Regions from separate parts of the Homo sapiens genome. Here region 1 is linked to region 2. Evidence: promoter capture Hi-C in 16 types of primary human blood cells and fetal thymus (Javierre and others, 2016). All regions are on one chromosome and are shown on one strand. Each heading gives the region's core, a stretch centred on a gene start or on the middle of the fragment in contact. The rest is flanking DNA. Distances are from core to core; before and after follow the strand shown. Region 1 has its middle 5.2 kb from the start of ACKR1. Region 2 holds the start of CADM3 (cell adhesion molecule 3).

The links. The method cuts DNA at HindIII sites, captures the fragments that hold promoters and counts their contacts. A CHiCAGO score of 5 or more calls a contact.
Region 1: a contact is called between a fragment that was not itself captured here and the fragment with the promoter of CADM3 in region 2, in 1 of 17 cell types (megakaryocytes). The highest score is 6.2, in megakaryocytes.

What each region holds. Positions count from the first base shown.
Region 1 is chr1:159,207,707-159,212,460 of GRCh38, reverse strand. No RefSeq gene overlaps it. Among named protein-coding and RNA genes, the nearest start is that of ACKR1, 5.2 kb to the right of the region's middle. The HindIII fragment of the contact is 1,947 bases long and covers 1,801-3,747 here.
Region 2 is chr1:159,170,282-159,175,218 of GRCh38, reverse strand. CADM3 (cell adhesion molecule 3) reads right to left here and starts at 3,604. Exons shown (of 9, transcript NM_001127173.3): 1 at 3,366-3,604. The coding sequence starts at 3,453. RefSeq lists an enhancer at 3,967-4,467. The HindIII fragment of the contact is 6,448 bases long and covers 2,585-4,937 here.

The DNA of each region.
Region 1 (4,754 bases), core at 1,525-4,024, 38 kb before region 2:
GTGAAGGGAACAACCCTGTTCTGGGGCTTGAGGGAGATGATGGGAGGAGGAGAAGCATGGTCGTGTTTTTGGAAGCATCCAGGCAGATCGCACAGACAGTCCACTTCTTCCTCCCCTCTTCATCAGGTCACAGACAGGAAAGGGCCAACTAATTTGTAAAGAACTTTCTTCTCCAAGGCTCCACACCCATTCCCTCTACTCTGGGCAATTGTCTTTCAGTGCGTTGGCTTCCAGAATCCACCGCAACCACCCTGGAGGAGTGTGAAAGGGCAAGAGCTTCTTGCTCTTGTATCTTCTGTGTGTCTGCATGTAAGGAACACTTCTGAACATGACACTGAGACAGGAACACTCACTGACTAGAGGCTGTGCGATTTGCTACGGACCTTTGACTGTGAAATAGAAGTTTGCTCTGAGAAGTCTAGGTGACTGAGGGATTTGTGGATCTTCTATGTGTTCTGGGATCCAAATTTGTTCAAGGTTGTTTGGGAGAGGACTGGGAAATTTTGAGAAACGAGGAAGGAAGGAAGGAAGGAAGGGGATGGGGGACCAGGTGGGCCCAGAGAGATTCTGATGCCAATAATTGTGTATGATTCATTTCCAAGTATTCCAGTACTTTCACTAGCATCTTGAATGTAGTGGATACTCAACAAATTCTTTAAATGAAATTAATTATACACCCCTAAGTGCCTTAAAGGGCGATCCTGTTCCCAAAACTGCAGAGACATCAATTGCCACAGGGGGGCGACAGAGGCCAGAAGGTGAGAGTAGGAACCAGCGTTCACAGGTGGGGAAGGGGTAGGGTTGGAAGGGGAGCTAAGTTGAAACTAAAAGGAAGGAGAGAAGACCGAAGAAAAAAAAAATCAGCATGGTGACTTTTCGGTCCAAGGGGGGTAGTGGGCTCTCCCTGAGAATGATGCAATCTGAGGAGGTGGCTGGACTATGAATTTGATTCCGAGCCAGTGAAGGACTTTGTCTCCCAGAACTCTGGGGGAGTCTCAGTGACTCACTTTTCCTCAAGCAAAGATGAAAAATGACAACCTTTCCCAGTTTTCCCCTGCTGGCCAAAAACCCGGCAGTATCCCAAAGGAAAGGAAGCATTGTTTCTTTAATGCGTGGTTCAGGAACTGTGGTGAAGTCCTCAGCTCCAGTCAGCCATGAATTGACACAAAAAAACAGGTTCACAGGCCGGAAATCTACAGAAGATTCTCCAGCCTCTTCAGCCCCCAGACACTGGAATGACATGGGAGAGGCTCTGGAGGACTTAGGGAGAAGAGGTCAGTTTTCTGCATCAATTATTTGCTTACTTGTTCCTCTTCCCTCTCTGGACTGTGAATGTTCCAGTGTGGCCAATGAATCTTTATTCATGAAATTAACTTGGGTATTTAGTAGATGTTTCCTGAGCTCTGATCATGTGCCAGTCAGCGAAAGGACTCTTGCATGGTTGAAGTTTCTTTTCTAGTGTTGGAGGGAGGAGGTAGACGAGCAGTAAACTGATAAGCAAATAAACGAATAAATAAAATTTTAACATGTGATAAATGCTACAGTGGAAACATCCGAGGTGAACTGGTAGAGAATAATTGGGTGTGGCATGGCCAGGCTACATTCCACTGGATGTCAGGGAAGGTCACTCTTGAGGGAGGTGATATTTGCACAGAGACCCCAAGGACGAGAAGTTGTTGGTCATATAAAGAGCACAGGAAGGAGCTTTTGGGGCAGAAGAGATATCAAGTGCAAAGACTCTTAGAGTGGAAAACAGATTTGCTCCTTCAAAGAACAAAATTCACCCGTGAGCATAAAGCTTCTTGAGCTGTGGGGAGACAAGGCCACCAGCTAATCGTGGAAGTGCTGTCAGAGGGTACAGAAACACTCAGGATTAACTTAAATGCAGTAGCGAAGAACTAGATGCCAAATTTAGGGTATAATATTGGATTTTTGTAAAGAGTAAGTTTATTACTATCACTGGATTTTCTAAGAGGCCTATAACCCTCCTCCTATCCCGTAAACATTAGCAATACCCTATTTAGAGGAAAAAGACTAGGTCCATGCTCTTAGAAAGACTAGAAAGATGAAAGGTACAGTTTGGAGCTACATACAATGTATTTTTGCATGATACGGAGAACTACCCAGGAAAAAAAAATACAGTTATCTTTGAAGAGGGCAAGGGTGAAACTTGACACGTTATCTGGGAAACCAAAGGCAGTAGGCAACTTTTTTTTTTTTTTTTTTTGAGATGGAGTCTCACTCTGTCGCTCAGGCTGGAGTGCAGTGGCGCGATCTCGGCTTACTGCAAGCTCCACCTCCCGGGTTCACAAGCAGTAGGCAACTTTAAATGACCACAGATGTGGTAGGAACATATAGAGAAAGCTGAGGACAAATGGCATTGATGGGGAAGTTGAGACTTTCATGCTAGAAACCAAGTTTGCAAACAATCAGGCAATGATTTTGAGATACTAGAGAGCTATAAGAACTTAATCTTCTCATTTATAAAAATGTATCCAAAAGATTTCCTAAATCTAAGTGCAACATAAAGATGTCTGATACATCCCCTTAAAATGATGTTCCCGCCGGGCGCGGTGGCTCACGCCTGTGATCCCAGCACTTTGGGAGGCTGAGGCAGGTGGATCACCTGAAGTCAGAGTTCGAGACCAGGCTGGCCAAACTGGTGAGACCCCCCCGTCTCTACTAAAAATACAAAAAATTAGCCTGGCGTGGTGGTGCACACCTGTAATCCCAGCTACTCAGGAGGCTGAGGCAGGAGAATCACTTGAACCTGGGAGGCGGAGGTTGCAGTGAGCCAAGATTGCACCACTACACTCCAGCCTGGGCAACAGAGTGAGACTCTGTCTCAAAAAAAAAAAAAAAAAAAGAAGATGTTCTCAAAATCCCCCAACCAATTTTCCAGAGCCAGTCTCTTAGAGAGTTTCTCTTCCCTTCACCAAATAGTTACAGGAAAGAAGAAAGCTAACGTGCATTTTTGCAGAAATGATGCTTAAACACTCCCCATCCCTCCCTGTGTTCCCCACACCCTTCCTGCCCAAATCACCTAGATGTCTAGAGATGATTTGGAAGGACTTGGACTTGTTAATTAACCTAAACAGTCGCATTCGTCAGCAAGGTGCATTATTGTTAATTAAAACTCCGATTCTCCTTGTGCCCAGACGGCGGGCTGCTGTTGTCAGAATAATTAGATAGCATACGATGGTTTTCATGCAAATCTCTGGCAATTAGAGTTGGCGATGAATTGGGTTTGAAATCCCAGTGAAGTTCTCAATCAGAATTCCTCTGAGGGAGGAAGGTGGTGATGGGGTTGGGGGATAGGGAAATAGGAATGGAAAAAGGGTGTGAGGACCAAGTATTTGTTTTCTAAATCCTAAGGGAGGGGCCTCAGCTTGGAATAAATGAACTATGAGCGTCAATGTGATGTTCAAACTTCCCTTGAATAATAGATCTCTCTCCTTTAGAAAGCAAAGCAAACTGACCTTCCTCAGGGTCCTGTGTTTTCCCAAGAGCTTGCTTCCCTGGCTCTCATCTTTCTGAGAGGATTTTTTTCTTTAGCTAGGATGCCCAATATCTCATACACAGCTAAAGTCCCTGCCAACCCTAAGATTAAATTCTTAAGGGCTTTAAGGAGACAGGATTTGTATTCCTGAAGGGTTGCAGAAAAGATGCCAGACTCAGACCAATTTTAGAGTGGTTGATGGCATGCAGTGGGTTAAATGCATGGGGTGGCAGGTCCCCAAGAAAGCTTTAAAGAAATGACTGAGGTCCGGGTTAGACTTAAGGAGGAGCTCTCCAAGTGCTGCCTAGGTAATGGCAGGGAAAGGGCAGCCCAAAAGGCCTGGAGCAATCCCGGTGGGGGTGGGGATGAGGAGGATGTAGCAGGGGGCGGGGGTAGGGCACTGTCTCCAGCCCACCCTAACCTCTTAGCAGCTTCGGGCTTCTGCAGCTGCCTTTCCCTTGTGAAAGCCATGAGAGCTGCCAAGCTATTACCCAGGAGTCTGGGGTTCTCTCTAACTGGACTGACTGACCAGGGATTTCTATCCAGAGGCACAGGGTTGGGGGCAGATAAGACAAGCCTACTGGTCTTAAATTAAGCCTCCCTTGCATCAGGTTGACACTGGAAGATTCAGGGAGTCAAAAACGCCCTCTCCTCCCCCTCAACTAGGTCAGCTTCCAAATCAGTACCTTGTAAGGGAGGACAGCAACATCTGGTAGAATTGCAAGAGTGGTCAAGGACGGGAGGGGGATATTGAGAGAAGCCTGGAAAAAAAAAAGCGGGGGAAAAAATACTAGAACACATTCATGAACTGTGGTTGGAAACCAGAGCATAATTTAGGTTTGTAAATTATTTCCTTTCTCTTCATTTTCTCTCCCTTCCTTTCTGTTTCAGAATGTCTCCCGCGTCTCAATCGGTCCCTAAATCCCGCCTTTCAATTGAGGACGAACCAATCAGGAGCTAACCTGGTGGTTGCTAAGAGACAGGAGGTGGGAGATTTAGAGGCCTTGTCGTGGCACCCACCCAGGAAAATTCCCTAAGCCTTTTGCACCCTCCTGCCTAAGCTATTCTAACTCATCTCTGCACCTCTCCCGCACTCGCCTACTATTCCCAAGCCCAGAGAGTCAAGCAGAAACATTTTAGTAAAGAAACCAGGTATAGCATATCTTTGGAAAATGGTAAGATGGTAATTGGGTTCAAACTGATAGAACGTATCTGCTCAAGTTTCCCCAGCCTTTAGTTGGGTTAGAGGTAGGAA
Region 2 (4,937 bases), core at 2,355-4,854:
GCAACTAGGAGGAGAACAGGAACAGCAACAGAACAGTTACAGCTGCAACTAGGAACAGAAACTGGATGGAGTTGATCTGCCAAACAGATCTGTGGACAGCACTAGAGTGAATGCCTGCTGGACTTCTGTGGCACATTGGGCATGATGTCCTCACTGGGCATCTGGCCAGGGGGCTGTAGAATGAATGGTAGTGGACAGAGGTCATTGAGAAGAAATAGATGTTCATGTGTGGGGCAGTGCAGTACAAGGTTAAATTGCTATAACCTTATCTGAAACAAAGAGAGGCTATCCGTCTATCTATCTTTACCCTAGGCCAAGTCACAGAGTGCTGGAAATAACTTCAGAAGGAAGAGCCCAAGAAAGCTGGTCACAGTGTTGAATATTGAGCTGCTCACCAGAGAGAGGACACATTAAGTTCACAGGACTTATGTCCTCCAAACCCAGAATTGTCAACCACTGTGAAAACTAGTGGGGAAATGTGAGAAGGAAGGGCAGATGGGACATTCTAAATGTCTTACCTGTTCCTGAACTTCTAGCCACAACACTCATGGCCAGTCTTAGTTATCAGCTGCTTGCCCTCTCAATCCCTGTTCAGCCTTATGAAGCTTAAAAAATTTATGCTGTGCTCCAGGGAATGATATGCCCCAGCAGCACATTAAGTTTGTTTTCCTTATTTTAAATGGGAATAGGTATGCTACCACAACACCCTTGACAATTCAAACATCACCATAAGAGTATCTTGTCCTTAAACCTTCCCACCACATCTCTCATAGTTTTGGTCAAACATTACCAGTTAAGATACATATACATATTGCCTAGTTCTCTTCCTAGGGGCCCCAGGCCAACTCAGGGGTACGAAACACATGTCCATGATTGTGTGCAAAATAGTCTTCAGGATTACTGTCCGTGAGCATTAAATCTATGCATTTACCTCCCACCATCAGCACTGGCCTTCTTAGATCCAGAAACTAAAAGATAGAATTAATTTAAGACAGAAGATATGGTGGTTATGTCTCATGCATCAGTGTGTCCTGAGATACTGCACACCAGACAGATGTCCATTATCTGTAAAGATAATGCTCTTCAAGGAAAATGATGCTTGGTTTGACTCTTCTTTGGAAACAGACCCCTCCTGTTCATCTCCCACTTCCCCACCTCTTCTCTAGAAATTCCCCATTCAGAAGTTACTGCTTTCCACTGTTTCTCTCAGGCCACTGCTCTGAAGCATATTTCTAAATATGAGGATGTAACATTTCTCTTCCTCTCAACTTTAAGCCTGAATAGGGGCTGAACCCCCAGTTTGAGGACCAAGAAAGAAGAGTGTAGTTGGTGAAGAAAGACTTGGCTAGTATACTGATTTACTCTAGTCTATAGTTTTTTTTTACATCTTAGAGTAGAAGAGCTCACAGCTTTCTGGATGACGTCTTTCTCTCTTTTTGGGGCCCAGCCTAGCACCATCAGTTCCCATTGCTGAACAGTTGCAGTTTGGATCATATTTGCCTCTCGTCATAAAACTCAGCAGGTTAGGAAGGCCAGGGGCTGCAGTTGAAAGTCAAGGCCTAGTAGCAGGGTCATTAATGAAGCACAAACACCCAGCAGCCTCTCTGTCGTGCACTTAGCCTGCTCTCCCCAAGGACTCCCTTCAGCTCCTCAGTGAGTGGGGTCATCAGTGCAGTCCTCTGGGGAAGGGGATTCCACGTAGGGGAAAGGAGAGGCTGCTGTCTCTGTGGTGACTAGGGCGGGAACTCCCTTTGGGGAGTTTGATGGGTAGAGGGCAGAAGGAGTAAGCCAGCCAGCCAACTATAGGGAGGGGATCCCCAGGGTCCCCATACCAGGGGAAGCTCCTTTATCACGATGGAGACAGGGATGGGGGAGGTCAGGCGAGGTGGAGCGATTATTCCTCCAGCACCCTGGCTCTTCGCCTGTTTTCCTCAGATGAAATTCTCTACATCATCCTTCCCAGTTTCAACCCCTCCCCTCTCCACCCCCGCCCCGCCCTGTGCCCATCCCTGCTGGCCACTGGGTCCATCGCCCAGGAGCCACCTCCCCTTTCTCCTCCCCTGCGGTTCTTTCTGTTTTTCGTTGGCATCTGGCCGGGCATAGCCACCACCCTCCCCCTTCACTCTCCCCACTTCCCTTTGCTCCACAGAGGTCCTGTTCCCTCTCCCCCTTCCTCCATCCCAGCCCTCCTCCTCTTCCGACAGGGCGGTGGGGGGAGGAGGATGCATTCCTTCAGTCTCTTCACAGCCTGCCCTCCCTCCTCAGGGACCTGAGGCTCGGAGCTGTGGACCCCTTCCGGGTTTCCCTACAGGCTGCCCCTCTGGCATCCCACTAACCGTTAGTAGCCTTTAAGAAAGCTGAGGTGCCCCCACAGCGCTGACCTACATAGCCCGGCCCAGGGCGGGAGGGGCTCTTCCCCAAGTCCCCTCACCCCTGGCCCCGCCTCCTTTCTCCCCCGACTCCCTTCCTTCATCTCTCTACCATTAGGAACCAGCGAAGGTTTGAGTTCCAGACTGGGGCAAAGGGGCTAGGTATGCTACCCCATCCCAAATTTGGGAAAATCAGTGCTTAGCCCAGGAAAGCTTTGGGTTTCTCATGCATCCTCCTCCCCAAATATCTTGATTCTTTCTTTTGCGCTCCCCCCTACCCCCACCCCGCCTCTGCTCCTGTCGGATTTCTTTTCCCAGCTTCTACCACTGCCAGGGATATTGCCATCCTGGGCCCCCTCCGCCCTGTGTTGTTGTTTTGCTCCAAGGATAAGGGCCCTCTTCTTTGCCCACGCCCCCTTCAGCAGCCTCACCCAGGCCCCCTTCTCTGCCCACTCGGAGCTGCGCCGCGGGTGGTGGGGGACGGGCGGGGGAGCAGAAATGTTTGCATACAGCAGTTTGGGGGATTGCACTGGCTACCCAACCCCTACAGACATACATACACAAACACCCGACACACGCCCTGACTGAAACAGCGACAAATCTCACTCCGCCCCCAACACACACTGACACAGACATACACACAGATACTGACACAGAAACGCAGAGCCAGACACCAACACAGACGCGCGCGCACACGGACAGCAACACATCCAGACCCCGGGCTGCTCCTAACGGACATCAGCCCCGAGAGCCAAACCCCGGTGCACACGCAGACACACGCTCAGTGGTGTACACAGAAGGGTGCACACACCGGCACACCCACAGTCCACAGAGACACGGATGCTCAGAGACAGACACAAGGGTATTAGCAGCGGCTGGTGACTTTAACCCCGGTTCCAAACAAAGCCAACAGGCTCCTTCCGCGAGACTCCCGATCCCAGCCCCCGCCTCGGGTCACTCCCCACCTCCCCAGGCGCCGCCCCCTCCCTCACTCACCGTCCTGGGAGAGGTTGGCCCCGCCGGGCGCCCAGCAGCAGGCGAACAGCAGGAGCAGGAGCAGGAGCGAGGCGGCTGGGGCCCCCATCGCGCTTCCCGGCCGGCTCCCTGGCTGGGCGCTGGCGAGCCTGAATCCCCGGGGGCTGGGGATGGGGAGGGGGTGGACTACGATGTTGACCGAAAGGGCGCCCCCGAGCCGCTTCGGAGCCCGGGGCCGAGGTGGGGACCGGGAGGGAGCCGGCGCTGCTGCAGTCGCGGGGATTAAATAGGGCGCTCGGAGCAAACCATTTGGTTGGAGGTGGAGGGGGTTTGGCGGGGGGCTGGGCTGGTCGCGGGGGGGCCAGGCTGCCGCATTCCCCACACCCCCCGCCTCCCACACCCCCTCCTTGCCTTCGTGGTGCCTTCCACCCTCTCCCCCGGGAGCTCGGCCAGCCGGGCTCGGGTGTGGATCAGAGGGAGGGAGCTGGCTCAGCAGTGGGACCCTGCGCTCACCCCTCTTAGGCTTGGGGTGGAGGGAGGGGAGTCGGACAGGGCCATGGGCCAGCTGGCGAGTGCAGCCACTGCAGGCCTGGGCAAGGGCGTGCTCACTAGCCTGAGGTCCTCCAGCTCCGCCCTCCATCCTTTGGCAACTGGGGATCCCCTTAAGCCCTGGGGTCCCCCACCAACCATGTACCCAGGGACATCTCTCCAGTGGATAACTACTAACTCTCAGCCTTCTCCTAAACGCTAACATCCCTAATTCCTCTTACCCAAGAGCCCATAGTTATCTGTCCAGCAACAATTTGTGGCCCCTGGCCTTAAGCCCTGGGGTCCCCCTATCAACAGTGTACCCAGGGACACCTGTCCAGTGGATAATTGCTAACTCTCATCATTTTCCTAAACCCTAACATCCCTGATTCCTCTTACCCAAGAGCCCATAGTTATCTGTCCAGCAACAATTCGTGGCCCCAGGCAATCTCCCTTGAAAGGCATTTTCCAACAAACTCCCAGGCCTTGGGAACCAATGTCTCCCTCAATCTCATGTCAAGGAAATAACTCACCCTCTGAAAACATGATTTCACCCCAGACTCTTGCCCAATCTGGCAGCCTAACAAAGCAACTCAGTCGTTTTCTTTCTTAACCCTCCCTATTACATCTCTTTAACCCCCGGTCCCTTTCTCCAATACGTTTTCTTCTTTCTTGTTCTTTTGCAGATCTCGCCCATCTCAAGTTTGAGTTAGTAAGGTTCATGGATGAAGAGTCTGATCTAGAAACCCTCCAAGGACCCCTGCGTCTGTGACCAAAGCTGCTGTCAATCCTGAGGCCAGATATAACAAGATGAGAGATGCAGGGTGTTTGTACTTGGTCTTGGCTTAAGTGTCCCAAGTCCCTGGTGTTTGCCATTCTTTGTGACTGAGTATCTCCGAGTCTTGATATATCTCAGAAAGGGATCTTTCTAAATCAGTTTTACTGAAACTTAGCTTTTGGAAATACATTTCTAAATGTTAGAATTCTAGAATAAAATGATATTAGATATCTAAGAATTCTTAGAAAATGTCTATTCCAACCCCTTAATTATATAGGTACAACTGA